Linked DNA regions of Homo sapiens: all the other regions are linked to region 2. The links are contacts of gene promoters, found by promoter capture Hi-C in blood cells and fetal thymus (Javierre and others, 2016). All regions are on one chromosome and are shown on one strand. The core of a region is centred on a gene start or on the middle of the fragment in contact, and the rest is flanking DNA. Distances in the headings are between cores, read along the strand shown.

Region 1 (4,463 bases), core at 1,964-4,463, 3.6 Mb before region 2:
CAACGCTTGTACAATTTTGTACCTAAGATTCTCTGTCAGGTATCTGAGCATTAAAATTTATTTATTTATTTATTTTTTTATTTATTTATTTTTTTTTTTTTTTTGAGACGGAGTCTCGCTCTGTCGCCCAGGCTGGAGTGCAGTGGCGGGATCTCGGCTCACTGCAAGCTCCGCCTCCCGGGTTCACGCCATTCTCCTGCCTCAGCCTCCCAAGTAGCTGGGACTACAGGCGCCCGCCACTACGCCCGGCTAATTTTTTTTGTATTTTTAGTAGAGACGGGGTTTCACCGTTTTAGCCGGGATGGTCTCGATCTCCTGACCTCGTGATCCGCCCGCCTCGGCCTCCCAAAGTGCTGGGATTACAGGCGTGAGCCACCATGCCTGGCTGGCTGATTGCTACATTCTTTAGCAAACTAGGTCTCAGTTTCAAGGATCTCAAAGTAAACCCGAGCAAGATACACTAGGGGAAATGCAACATTGGCTTGAACCCTGATGAAGAATCTATTAAAAAGGGAGAAAAATTTTAATAGTTCTTTCTCCATTAACAGGAGAAGGTAACATCTGTATCTTCCTGACCCGCCTTACTTTCGGTTCAGAATCAACAAAAAATAAAGGATCCAAACAGATGATGGTAAAAATATAACTAAATCCAACGTGCAAAAACCCTTATTACTTCAACTGCAAATTAAACTTACCCAGTTAGAACTGTAGGCATTCCATTTCCTTCTCCCTCATAGTATTAGTAGTCCAGCCTGCTCAGATAAGCCTACCATACAAATGAATAGACAATGTATAGCCTAAGAATTGAGAGTCCCAAAAATTGAATCATAAGGCACTGAACAAAAGTATACTCAATCCCTTCCCTTAGCCTCCCCTGATCCTCCTTTGGGATGGCAACTCAGGGGATGGGAAGAAGCGGAAAGCTATTTCCAAAAAAGAACTTCCTACTTTATGAGTCATGGTAGAAACAAGTAAAGACGAAAATAATGGTTCCCCCTTCAACAAGCACAATCTTCTCAAATATAAAACAAATTCCTCAGAAGTAGTCTTATAACTCTTCAACAGGAGCACCTCACAAACATAATACATATCTCCTCTTCTTTCATTTCCTATTTCAGAGAGAGGCAGAGATTGAATGAACAGATATTAGCCTAGCTTGGCCTGAGATGACTGAGCTAAAATGAAGAAAAGAAAATCTGCAAATTCCCATAGCAGTCCTGATTAAAAACCAGTATTCTATGTAGTCTCTGCACAAGTTATGATAAATTTAGCCACAAAAGGCAGACCTCTTTTTAAAACTGCACAATACACAAATGGGTACTTAATCATTTCATCTTCCTTTTCAAAATTCTCTCCCTTACCTAACTTCCTCTCTCACCCTTATCCCAAGTGAAGACCCCCAACTTGCCCTCTATATGCCTAAAAAACACCTCTTACTTAGCTTTGACCTCTAGCACTCCCATTCCCCATAACCCAACTAGGTATGAATCAGATTATGTGATTAAATTACTTCACATTAATGGGTAAATGAGGCTTAATCCACAAAGGTCAATTCCACACGTCATTAAACTCTACTATGTATAAGGCACTAAGTTTAATCAATTAATATACCTATCCTTCTTACAAGAAAAACTAACACAAATCAATCTTTTAATGAACAATGTAAGGAAGGGGCACAAGAGTGTTTGCTTCACATCACACTTTCTCCACCCAGTTCTTTCCATCCTGTTGCCAAACCCCTCCAATCTCCATCTGGCATGGAATAAAATCCAAGGGATCAGTATTTCTTCCAGTAAGTCAATGCCTAGGAAGACAATGTGGGATAGCACAGCAAACAATAAACATTCAAATCCTGAAATGGACTGTAGAGGGTCTCTTGTATTTAATTTTATATATTAGCTGCAAATACAATAAAGAGCTTCTAAATAATTCAATTTCTGTACAAGATACCTATAAATCAGCTTTGCTCAGAACTCTGAGTTTTTAAACCATAAATACTGAGATGCTTTTTCTTCAGTTATTTCCACAGTTAAAACGTTTATAGTAAATACCAGTTCAAATTGCCCTACTATAACTATACTTAAAGGCTATTAAACTTAACTACTGTTTTCAATTAGATGTGACATTTTTCCCAAGACCCCTTAAGTTTGAAACTCCAAACTTGCTTTAAACCTCCTTTTTTTCCAGTCATAAAATTTATTAATTTTGATTTATAACAGAGCTTCTAAACTGGAGAGGAGAATACAACTATGGACAGGTTTGGATTTGATTCAGTCACATGATATTTTTAATGGTTTTAATTAGTTGTCAATATTTTTAAGACGCAAGACACTGAATGCAAAAATCTAGATTTCCGAGTTCTCTTGAGAATGCTGAAGATGGGGTCCATATTCTTATATAGCACTGATTAGGGGGACCTGAGACTTGGATGTCTCTCTGATAAGGCATAGTGCATTTCCCTCATTTTCATTATCTAACTAGTACCCGAAGGCATGTGAGTTTGTTGCTCATGCTATGGCTTTGAAAGGTGCACAATATTTTCCATATCACTTCCATACTTCCCTAAGTCACCTATTATAAAAAGCCAAAAGCAGACCACAGTGGTTTGCAACTCCATAGTTAATAATTTAAAAAATTCACATGGCTTAGAGGGAGTGAGAAAGAAGAAAATTCAGACTGGTGGAAGGGTAACATAATTACATAGGGTTAGAAGTCTATCTGAAAGCTTTTCTGGGAGTGAGAAAAAAGGTGAACGAACACAAAAACATTGTTGAAACACTAAAAGCTTTCCTGATTGAACACTGTTACTCTCTGGTGGTTCCTTACCACATTCCATGCTTCAGAAACTTCCTTCCTACTTTGTATGTATTAATATAATAGCTGTTAGGTCATACACGCTGAGAAATATTGGGAAAATTTATAAAACACATTTACATCATCAGAAATAATTCTTCTCACACTTTTTTTTTTTTTTTTTTTACCAGTCTTGGTCCACTTTCAAATCCCTTCCCAAGTATTTTCTACTGCTTTCCGCTTTATATTCAAATGACAACTGCAGTCCTGGGTTTCAGGACTGAACTTCAATCCTGGACAGGCTCTCTAATACAGAAACTCTTTTGGCCGTTATGGCTGCATTCTTTATTATATCTCTTATTCCGATTTCCACAGTCTCTTTCATTGAAAATTTATCCCTAACCCCCTCTCTAAAAGATTTTGATCAAATTTGTGTAGTTGGGGGGTTGGGAGGATAGGGGCGGGAAGGAACTCAGTTGTCCAAATACAATTAATATCCTGTGCTGTTTCATTTAGATTGCTAATTTAAATAAAAAGCATGAAAACTCTGCAAGATAATAAATCTTCGTAAAATAATCTTGTTTACTAAGTGCACAAAGCCACAAGCAAGTGAAGCTCTATCTTTCAGCATGTCTGGACTAGTGACTTTTCATCATGGACTCAGAATACTGAGAAAGGAGAAGCAGGAAATCTGTGAGGCCCAGGGACAGTCACACTGGCCCACACTAACAAATTACTAACCGATGTCTCACCTTCCCCCGCCCCATTCCCAAAGATAAGGGTGTCAGGGCACCTGCATCTGAAGAAGAAAGACATCAGAACCTTTTCCGTGCAAGTTTTAAGAAAACAAAGCTTTACCACACGTAAAATGGTTACAACATAAAACCACGCAGCACGTTAGTGGGGTCTCACTCCTCTTCACCCAGAGGGAGGCTGCCCACCACCTTATCCCCTATTGTGATGCGCCTTCCTCAGGATGTCGCTGCGTTCGTCTGAGATGACAGGAAAGGGGCGGGGCACGGGGTTCCTCTGCCCTGGAAAGGGATGAGGGTATCGCCTTCATCCCCGGAGAAAGGCCCCCGGACTCCCAACCCAAAAGCAGCAGCCGCAAAACTCAAGTCTTATCCCGGCCTCTCCTAATTGGGTGCTCGTGGCCGGAGCCCAAAACGCCACCCACGGTACCCGAGCAGGGTCCGGCCGCCCAGACCACCGCCGCAGCAGCCTGGCTCTCACGCCCAGATTCGCCCTCCGCCCCTTTCCTCTTTCGCCCCGGCCAAGCCCAGCCTCCCGCGCCGCCCCCGCCGAGTTCCCCAGCTGAGTCCACTCACTCTCGAACCTGTAGTCCCCCTTCAGTGCCCACACAAGATTGGGGCAAAGGCCGGGGCCAGTGACACCTCCACTTCCTCCTCAGCCAGATCCCTCCGGAGGTGGCTGTGGAGGAAGCCACTGAGGCGGCTGCGCGTAGCGGAGCCGCCCCGGCAGGTTGCAGGCCGGCTCCTCAGCCTCTTACCGCGAGAGCTCACAATGCGAAGAGGCGAGGCCAGCAGCGTTCTCGCGAGAACGGTGCTCTCCGCCCAGGGGTGGGCGGGGCACCGAAGGAGAAGGCAGTTGAGGGCGCGGCGGCCACGGGTGGGATCTCAGGCGCGTGGAGAGGAAGGCGCCGCGCGACC
Region 2 (4,512 bases), core at 576-3,075:
AATGTTGGAAAACCATCATCACAGTGAGCTTGCTGGAATACAGATGACCAAAGGGATTAATGAGATTCCACAGCTAACATTTACTGAGAACTCTGGTCAGATATTCTTCTAAAAACTTTACACGTTATTTCTTTTAAACCTCTAATGAGCTCTGACTACTTACAATCTATGACATATTTTCTTTTGATGTGTCATACCTCCAATTAGACTACAAGCTCCAGGAGTACAGATATTTTGCACCCCCCTCCCCCTTTTAAGAGGTGGGATCAGGTGGTGTGGCTCACGCCTGTAATCCCAGCACTTTGGGAGGCCGAGGCAGTGGATCATCTGAGGTCAGGAGTCTGAGACCAGCCTGGCCAACATGGTGAAACCTCGTCTCTACTAAAAATACAAAAATTAGCCGGGCGTGGTGGTGCGGCCTGTAGTCTCAGCTACTCCAGAGGCAGAGGCAGGAGAATTGCTTGCTTGAACCCAGGAGGCGGAGGTTGCAGTGAGCCGAGATCATACCACTGCACTCCAGCCTGGGTGACAAAGTGAGAATCGGTCTCAAACAAAAACACACAAATTAGCTGGGCCTGCTGGCGGGCGCCTGTAATCCCACCTATTCGGGAGGCTGAGGCAGGAGAATCGCTTGAATCCAGGAGGTGGAGGTTGCAGTGAGCTGAGATCGCGCCACTGCACTCCAGACTGGGCGACAAGAGCAAGACTGTCTCAAAAAAAAAAAAAAAAAGAGGTGGGGTCTCTCTGTCACCCAGGAGTGCAGTGGCTTCATCATAGCTCACTGCAGCCTGGGACTTCTAGGCTCTGGTGATCCTCTCACCTCTGCATCCCAAGTATCTGGGACTACAGGCACATTGCGGCTGGCTTTTTTGGGCGGGGGAGTCGGAGAGTAGTATGTTCTCAGGCCCCAGAACCATGTTCAGCACATAGAAGGTAAACATTTGCTGAATGAAGCCACTTGCACGAAGTCACACGCAGCTGAGATTCAAACCACACCTAACTGTGAGGAACTGTGTCAGGCACTCTGCTTAGCCAATTCCAACTCCTCCACTTGACAGCTGTGTGATTTGGGGCTGGTTAGTATCCAGCGGCAGTGTGCCTCTGCTTCCTCAACTGTAAACTGGGGTGAAAGCCATGAAGATTTATTTCAAAGTATTGTGGTCAGAATTAAACGAAATCAGTACATGTGAAGTGCTTACAATGATGCCTCTAGCACGGTGGCGAGACCAGAGTTTTGGCTATTTTTAAAATAACTTTACCACCTACTAGATCCTACAAGTCACACGAGGACAGGCGAAATAGGCTATGTTAGACACAAACACTCACCGATCTGTGAAGGAGTAAGGCCCTTCTTGGCCAGTTTGTAAATCTGCTCCTTCACGTCGTCAGATGTCAACTTCAACCACTGTTATGGAATAGAAAGCAGCCTTAGGATGAGAACCCAGGAATGGCGCCGCAGAACAGCGGTCTCTCCTTCCGCAAAACCGCGCTCCTCATACACGCAAGTTCCTCACCCTGGCGTCGCTTCACCCGAGACAAATGCCAACCCCCTCCCCGGATTCTCCCCGGTCCCAGCGCGCTACTTACAGTGGGGACGCTGCGTCGATAGGGTAAAGCCGACTGGGACAGGCCCTTCCTGGGGAGAGAAGCAGTCTCGAGGTGAGGTGGCGGCTAGTGCCAGAGCAGCCCAGAACATCATCCCCTCGGCCCGCTGCCCACACTCCCTGTCTTCCTCCCACCCCCCGCCCAGCAATCCGGCTTGATGCCCCGAGCTCACCCGGGAGCATGCATGCGACCCATGATGGCGGCGATCAGGCAACGAAAGGAGAGCGAGAGTGGAAACGCCGCAGGAAGCCACCCAACACGCAGGAAGTGACCTCACACGTCCCCGCTTCCTCTCACGCAGGAGGCGGAGCTACGCTGCGCAGCCACCGCCCGTCTGTGTGACTACATCTCCCGAAATGCATTTCAGCGTCGCAAGAGATCGTCAATCCAGCCTCATCCCGGCATGCATCGGTCTTTGGTCAGCCTTGTTGCCAGAGCGGGAATTTGAGGCTGACGCCAGCTTGCGTCGAAATTCCCTGTGGACGCCGAGATCACAAAGATTCGAATGCTGCGCTGGGGGTGGGTATGGAGCAGGTAGGGCTGGAAGAAGCAGCCATACACAGGTGTTTGCTCATTCACCAGTGCCTGGCTTTGTCCTGGCACTAGATCCCTCAGAGTCGGCCCTGCGCCTAATAAATTAACAGATACAATAGCATGTGATGAGGACCACACGGGAAGCCATGGCAGCGGCTACCGCCCAGCCAGCGCTTCCATTTCTCATTTCTAAATCCTACCCTAATCTGTCAGGGGAGAGTCGCTGACGGTGAAGAACCGGTCTAAGGAGTTGAACCAGGTCCCCACGGATGCCTGCCGCCCTCCGCACTCGAATTCCCCTGCGCAGGGCTCTGGGGCGCTGGGCTCGCCGGGGAGAAGGGTTGGGCAGAGGCTTACGGAGCTATGTTCCCAAGTGAGAGAGTTGGCGGGCAGGGAAGAGCCTTGGGAGCAAGACTGCAAAGGCCAAGAGGATGAGGGATAAAATGAAGCATTTGAATTTCATGGGAAAAGGGAACCGTCAAGGAAGAAGCTTTTTTTTTTTTTTGAGACGGAGTTTCGCTCTTGATTCGCAGGCTGGAGTGCAATGGCGCGATCTCGGCTTGCCGCACCCTCCGCCTCCCGGCTTCAAGCGATTCTCCTGCCTCAGCCTCCTGAATAGCTGGGATCACAGGCATGCGCCACCACTTCCAGCTAATTTTGTATTTTTAGTAGAGACGGGTTTTTCCATGTTGGTCAGGCTGGTCTTAAATTCCCGACCTCAGGTGATCCGCCCGCCTCGGCCTCCCAAAGTGCTGGGATTACAGGCGTGAGCCACCGCGCCTGGCCGGAAGAAGCTCTTTTAAGACAGACCTAGCCTGGGCAACATGGCGAAACCCCCTCTCTATAAATACAAAGAATTAGCCGGGCGTGCTCGCTCGTGCCTTTGGTTCCAGCTACGAAGGAGGCTGAGGTGGAGAATCTCTGGAGCCGGGAAGGACATTGCGGTGAGCCGAGATAGCACCACTGCGCGCCAGCCTGGGCAACAGAGCAAGACTCTGTCTTAAAAAAAAAAAAAAAAAAGGAAAGAAAGAAAAAGACTGACTCAGTGCCGGTACACAACAATGCGTTGAAAGAATGGGCAAATGAAGCAGCTTCTTAAAATTTTAAAAAGTAAGCATAGCTCTAGGAAGGAGGGAGGTCAGTGAAATCAAACTCCTGTCGACAAGCTTAAAGTAACTGGCAAGACGCTGGGAAACTAGATACTGAAACATCCGCTCTTAACTTTTAACCTGTCACTATTTGAAATAAAGTTATCAGGGATAGCCGGGCGCGGTGGCTCACGCCTGTAATCCCAGCACTTTGGGAGGCTGAGGCGGGCGGATCACGAGATCAAGAGATCGAGACCATCCTGGCTAACACGGTGAAACCCCGTCTCTACTAAAAATACAAAAAAATTAGACGGGCGTGGTGGCGGGCGCCTGTAGTCCCAGCTACTCAGGAGGCTGAGGCAGGAGAATGGCGTGAACCCGGGAGGCGGAGCTTGCAGTAAGCCACGATCGCACCACTGCACTCCAGCCTAGGTGGCAGAGCGAGACTCCGTCTCAAAAAAAAAGTATCAGGGATAAAGAGAGAACCCTTTATAACAACAAACGGGTCAGTTCTCCAAGAAAACAACACCCCTCCCCCCCAAAAAAGCCATAATCTGTCACTATTTGATTAATAACTTTTCCCAAAGCATTAGGAATTTTAGTCAAATCGGGTACCCTATTTGGGTAATGTTTTTTTCTAGCAAAGTTTATCATTAGCCAATTTTACATTTTTAGTTCAGATATGGAATAGGTATCTCAAATTTAATATGACTCCAATTCCCAAACCATGCCCCTTTGTTTCAGTTAAACACGATCCTGTTTGCTCAAACTTAATACAAACCTAGGCATCTCCGTTTTTCTCTGATTTCCCTCTGTCATCCCAGCTCTACCACAAGAATGTATCATGAATATGTTCCCTTTGCCCCATTTCCACCTTCAGTCCCAGCCACCATCACCTCCTATCTGGGCAACTCTGTAGTATCCACACCGTCTGGTCACGTCCCCACTCTAAACACAACCCACTCTCCACCTAGCAGTCAGAGTGATCCATTAAATACATAAAGCAGATTAATTCATTGCTCCCCTGTGTAAATCCCTCCCATACTTTCTCAATGCACCTAAGATCCAATCCCTGGACCCACGTCTTGCCACTATCCCCCGATTCTAAACGCTCTAACCGCACTTACTCCTTTCTGACTCTACAAGGTAGCAATGTGTTCCTTTCCTGCTTAGAGCCCTTCCTCTTGCTGTTGGCACTGCCTGAAGTGCTTGCTCTTCCTCAAGACCTTTTCAGGTCTCACTTTCACATCCTGGCCTCCATGTCATCTCAGGGTGGCTTTCCCTA
Region 3 (4,161 bases), core at 1,126-3,625, 3.3 Mb after region 2:
AACTCACATTCTTGCCACTTAAAATTCTGCCTGTTAGTCTTGGGAAGCTTTGGCTCCTGTCCTAGGCAAGTAGGCATGAAAGAGGCCCGGTTGGCATTGGCCGGTGTTACTTTAATACATTTTCCAGTGTTCCCTGTATCTGGGCATGGTGCTGAGTGGTGGTGCGTTAGTGTTCTCATCTGTAGCCCCATTGGGTAGATAGAATGCCTGTATATATTCTAGTTGTCATAAAATATTTATTGAGCACCAGTGGTACCGTGGCTGTGATAGCCTCCATAAATAGTCGACATAACCTATCTCGGTAAACATTTGTGGAAAACTAATGCTCCACATGTGTTAGGAATATAGATAAGGTATACAGCTTCTCTGCTGTGTATTCCTGTCTTTAAGTAGCCTTCAGATTTGCATGTCACATAATAAAGAGGATTGATCCTCACAGTGTCTGTGATGCAAGTACGTTGGGAATACTACAAGATCACTTTTGAAATAAGGCACTTGGGGAGTATGCCAGCTGTAAAATTACATTTTATGCTTTATTTCTAAAAGCAGTTTGAGCTGTGCCAGTTCAAAGCCTCTGAAAGCAGAGTTGACACTTAGAGGAGAAAAGAATCTCAAGTAGAGAAATTGTATGACTTGAGAGAAACAGACTCTATCAAAGGGAACTCTCTTAAAAGCCTTTTGATAAAATCAGTGATATTATTTGACAAATAAATTCACTTTGACATTTAAAGGATAATTGGTTTTAGGTATAAAATGGGACTCAGAAGTACTAATTCCCTTTAAAAGTGCTGGATTCCCTTCCTTTCAGATACAAGTGTGTTTGTTTTTTCTTAATTGGAAGTAAAACTAGAAACCAGCAGAGTTAAAAAAAAAAAAAAAGTGTATATGTAACATGAAATCAGTATTTAGACTTCTTAGGGGACTATTCCATGAAGCTATTGCTTGATTTTTCAGGTTATTCACATCTGCTGAAGAAACATTTTCACACTGTAAGTCTGAGCATCAGTTTAATATTGACAGCATGGTTCATAAACATGGTGAGTAGTTTTTAGAATAAAGGCAATTTAATTTGTGAAATTTGGGCAGGCATGGCAGCTCACACCTGTAATCCCAGCACTTTGGGAGGCTGAGGTGGGTGGATCACTTTAGGTCGGGAGTTCAAGACCAGCCTGGCCAACATGCTGAAACCCCACCTGTACTAAAATACAAAAGTTATCTGGGTGTGGTGACGCACACCTGTAATAGCAGCTGCTCAGAAGACTGAGGCAGGTGAATTGCTTAAACCTGGGAGGCAGAGGTGGCAGTGAGCTGAGATGGTATCACTGCACTCCAGCCTGGGCAACAGAGTGAGACTCTTCTCAAAAAAAAAAAAAATCTGTGAAATATAAGTTCAGATTTTATAGTTTTTCAGACCCTTTTCTGTACGAGTTTAATATGGCGAATCACACAGCAACATCTTGTGGAAATGGAGTTTTTTTGACAAGCGGTCCTTGAGAAAAGATGAATAAGTCACTCTTCTAGACAAGATTCACTGTATTTAAGCTTATATTAGCTTTTCAACTAAAAACAAAAACAGACTTGGCATGTGATTACATTTTTACATTTTATGTGATTACATATTAGATTTAGGGAGAGCAAGTGTAGATGTAGGACTTGAAAAAGGACGCAGGTCATTTGAAAAAAGACAATCAGCTCAAAGCATGACATGAACTTCACAGCCTACGAGACTGAGTTTTATACAAAGTTCGGTAGAGACTGGAAAAAGAGTGATGAAGTTAAGATTAATATGCAAAATACTCAGGTGATGTTTCTATTGAAACTTTTATTTAAACACACTTGCCTTACAATTAAGGCCTTCCACTTTAAATGGATGTAGAAGAGCTATACTACAATAAAATTAACTAAATAGGCCAGGTGCTGTGGCTCACGCCTGTGATTCCAACACTTTGGGAGGCCAAGGCAGGTGGATCACAAGGTCAAGAGATTGAGACCATCCTGGCTAACCCAGTGAAAACCTTTGGGAGGCCAAGGCGGATGGATCACAAGGTCAGGAGATCGAGACCATCCTGGCTAACCCAGTGAAAACCCAACTCTACTAAAAATACAAAAAATTAGTCGGGCATGGTGGCATGTGCCTGTAGTCCCAGCTACTTGGGAGGCTGAGGCAGGAGAATTACTTGAACCCGGGAGGCGGAGGTTGCAGTGAGCTAAGATCATGCCACTGCACTACAGCCTGGGTGACAGACTGAGACGCCGTCTCAAAAAAAAAAAAATAATAGGTTTTTTGGTCCCTATATTTGTTGACAACTAAGAAGGGACATTACTGAAGAATAGCAAATACTAACAGGTGTTTCAGTGTCAGATAAATACGTGATATCACATGTTTATAAATCATAAATTCAACTGCAAGTACTTTCGTAAGGCATAAATGACAGCCTCATTTTTTAATGTTTTTTGTTTTTGTTTTTTTTTTGAGACGGAGTCTCGCTCTTGTTGCCCAGGCTGGAGTGCAATGGCACGATCTCGGCTCACTGCAACCTCCGCCTCCCGGGTTCAAGTGATTCTCCTGCCTCAGCCTCCCAAGTAGCTGGGATTATAGGCATGCGCCACCACACTGGCTAATTTTGTATTTTAGGAGAGACAGGGTTTCTCCATGTTGGTCAGGCTGGTCTGGAACTCCCGACCTCAGGTGATCCGCCTGCCTTGGCCTCCCAAAGTGCTGGGGTTACAGGCATGAGCCACTGTGCCCAGCCTTAATGTTTTTAATGTTGCATTTCTAAAGTATTAGAATCATACTTAAGATAGAATTTTGTTTTGTTTTTTTTTTACTTACCGATATAGGGGGTTTGTATACTATTAAAGTTTTCTCATAACAAGAGTTTTATGACAAATAATTGGTTGGTTGGATGTATTACTGCTTTCCTTTGTTTTAAATGCTGCTTCATTTCTGGAAAGATACGAGAACCAGATAACAAGCCTTATTGGGCTTGCATCATTTAACTTCATGTAAAAGCTAGTATACACCATGTCCTGGCAAAATTATAATTTGATACACACCATAAAAATTAGGGATTTAATACTTTCAGCTCTGATATCAGTTGCCAAATACTTGGTAAAATGTGGATCTTAATTTTCCAGATTTGTATTGTTCTGACAAAGGAGGAGTAGAATTTTAGAAATCAGTTTTCCATCTTTTTAGAAATACTAGAAAAGCTTTAATTTGTCATTTATGGCTGCTTCTCAAGATATTCAGAAGTATCATTGTATTACTACTTCTAATTCTTAATAAAATTCAAAATATAAGTAGTAATTTAGAGGTCAGAATTATTTTATTGTTTAATCAGAGAAGGCTTTATAGAATAGGTCAGTTAAACAAAACTCATTATGTTAACATAGGTGAATTATCTTTTTCCCCCTTTAGGACTTGAATTTTATGGATACATTAAGCTAATAAATTTTATTAGACTTAAGGTAAGTTGACAGCTTAATTTATAATTTCGTTTAGAAATCAAAGAAATGCTACAGTGACTGTCAGTGTACTGATTATTTAAAAGAATATGAGGAACTGCATTAAATTTGGTACTCATCATATTGGGGGAATCACGGACATTAGGAGGTAGCACAGCAGAAAGCACCATGTAAATGTCTACCATAACTAACAAATATTGTTTTCACTGCATCTAAGAGATGAATCGGTGTATGTGAAAAAGTAATTCAGTGTCAAATAAAGGGAAATACTGATGGACAGGATCTGTAAAATCAGAAATAATTTCTAATGTGATTTTAAGTATTTTGGTTGCTCTTTTTTATTCTGTTTTTTTTCAGATACTTTGTTTTTTTTTTTTTTTGTCCTGTTTAAATGAATGTTTAATGACATGACAACGCTTTCCCCAAATCCAAACAGTAAAAAAAACTCTGCGTTGAAACTGCTGGTTAAGCAGTCGTCCAGCAAGTTAATGAAATGACAGGCACGTAGACTTTTTGGAGACATACTGACTTTGTGTAATGCAAACATGATTTCCTTTTTGTTTAATTTCTGTAGTTTTTACTAAGGGGATTTTGTGATTATATGTAATGAAAAAAACATGAGATTAATTTTATATCCAGAATCCTACAGTTGAGTACATGAATTCCATATACAACCCAGTGCCTTGGGAGAAA

The links. Contacts are between HindIII fragments. The CHiCAGO score rates a contact against its expected background, and 5 or more counts as called.
Region 1: a contact is called between a fragment that was not itself captured here and the fragment with the promoter of RPS13 in region 2, in 1 of 17 cell types (fetal thymus). The highest score is 7.9, in fetal thymus.
Region 3: a fragment that was not itself captured here is called in contact with the fragment with the promoter of RPS13 in region 2 in 2 of 17 cell types (total B cells and non-activated CD4 T cells); the score reaches 7.9 in total B cells.

The regions. Positions count from the first base shown.
Region 1 is chr11:13,458,971-13,463,433 of GRCh38, forward strand. BTBD10 (BTB domain containing 10) reads right to left here and starts at 4,252. Exons shown (of 9, transcript NM_032320.7): 1 at 4,122-4,252. RefSeq lists an enhancer at 4,432-4,463. The HindIII fragment of the contact is 860 bases long and covers 2,784-3,643 here.
Region 2 is chr11:17,075,842-17,080,353 of GRCh38, forward strand. It overlaps RPS13 (ribosomal protein S13), which reads right to left and starts at 1,826. Exons shown (of 6, transcript NM_001017.3): 1 at 1,778-1,826; 2 at 1,588-1,636; 3 at 1,327-1,405. The coding sequence starts at 1,800. SNORD14B (small nucleolar RNA, C/D box 14B) reads right to left here and starts at 27; the gene lies at 1-27. RefSeq lists an enhancer at 1,860-2,059. The HindIII fragment of the contact is 8,959 bases long and covers 1-2,627 here.
Region 3 is chr11:20,388,790-20,392,950 of GRCh38, forward strand. It overlaps PRMT3 (protein arginine methyltransferase 3), which reads left to right. Exons shown (of 16, transcript NM_005788.4): 3 at 955-1,037; 4 at 3,422-3,471; 5 at 4,108-4,161. Among named protein-coding and RNA genes, the nearest start is that of PRMT3, 3.2 kb to the left of the region's middle. The HindIII fragment of the contact is 1,671 bases long and covers 1,541-3,211 here.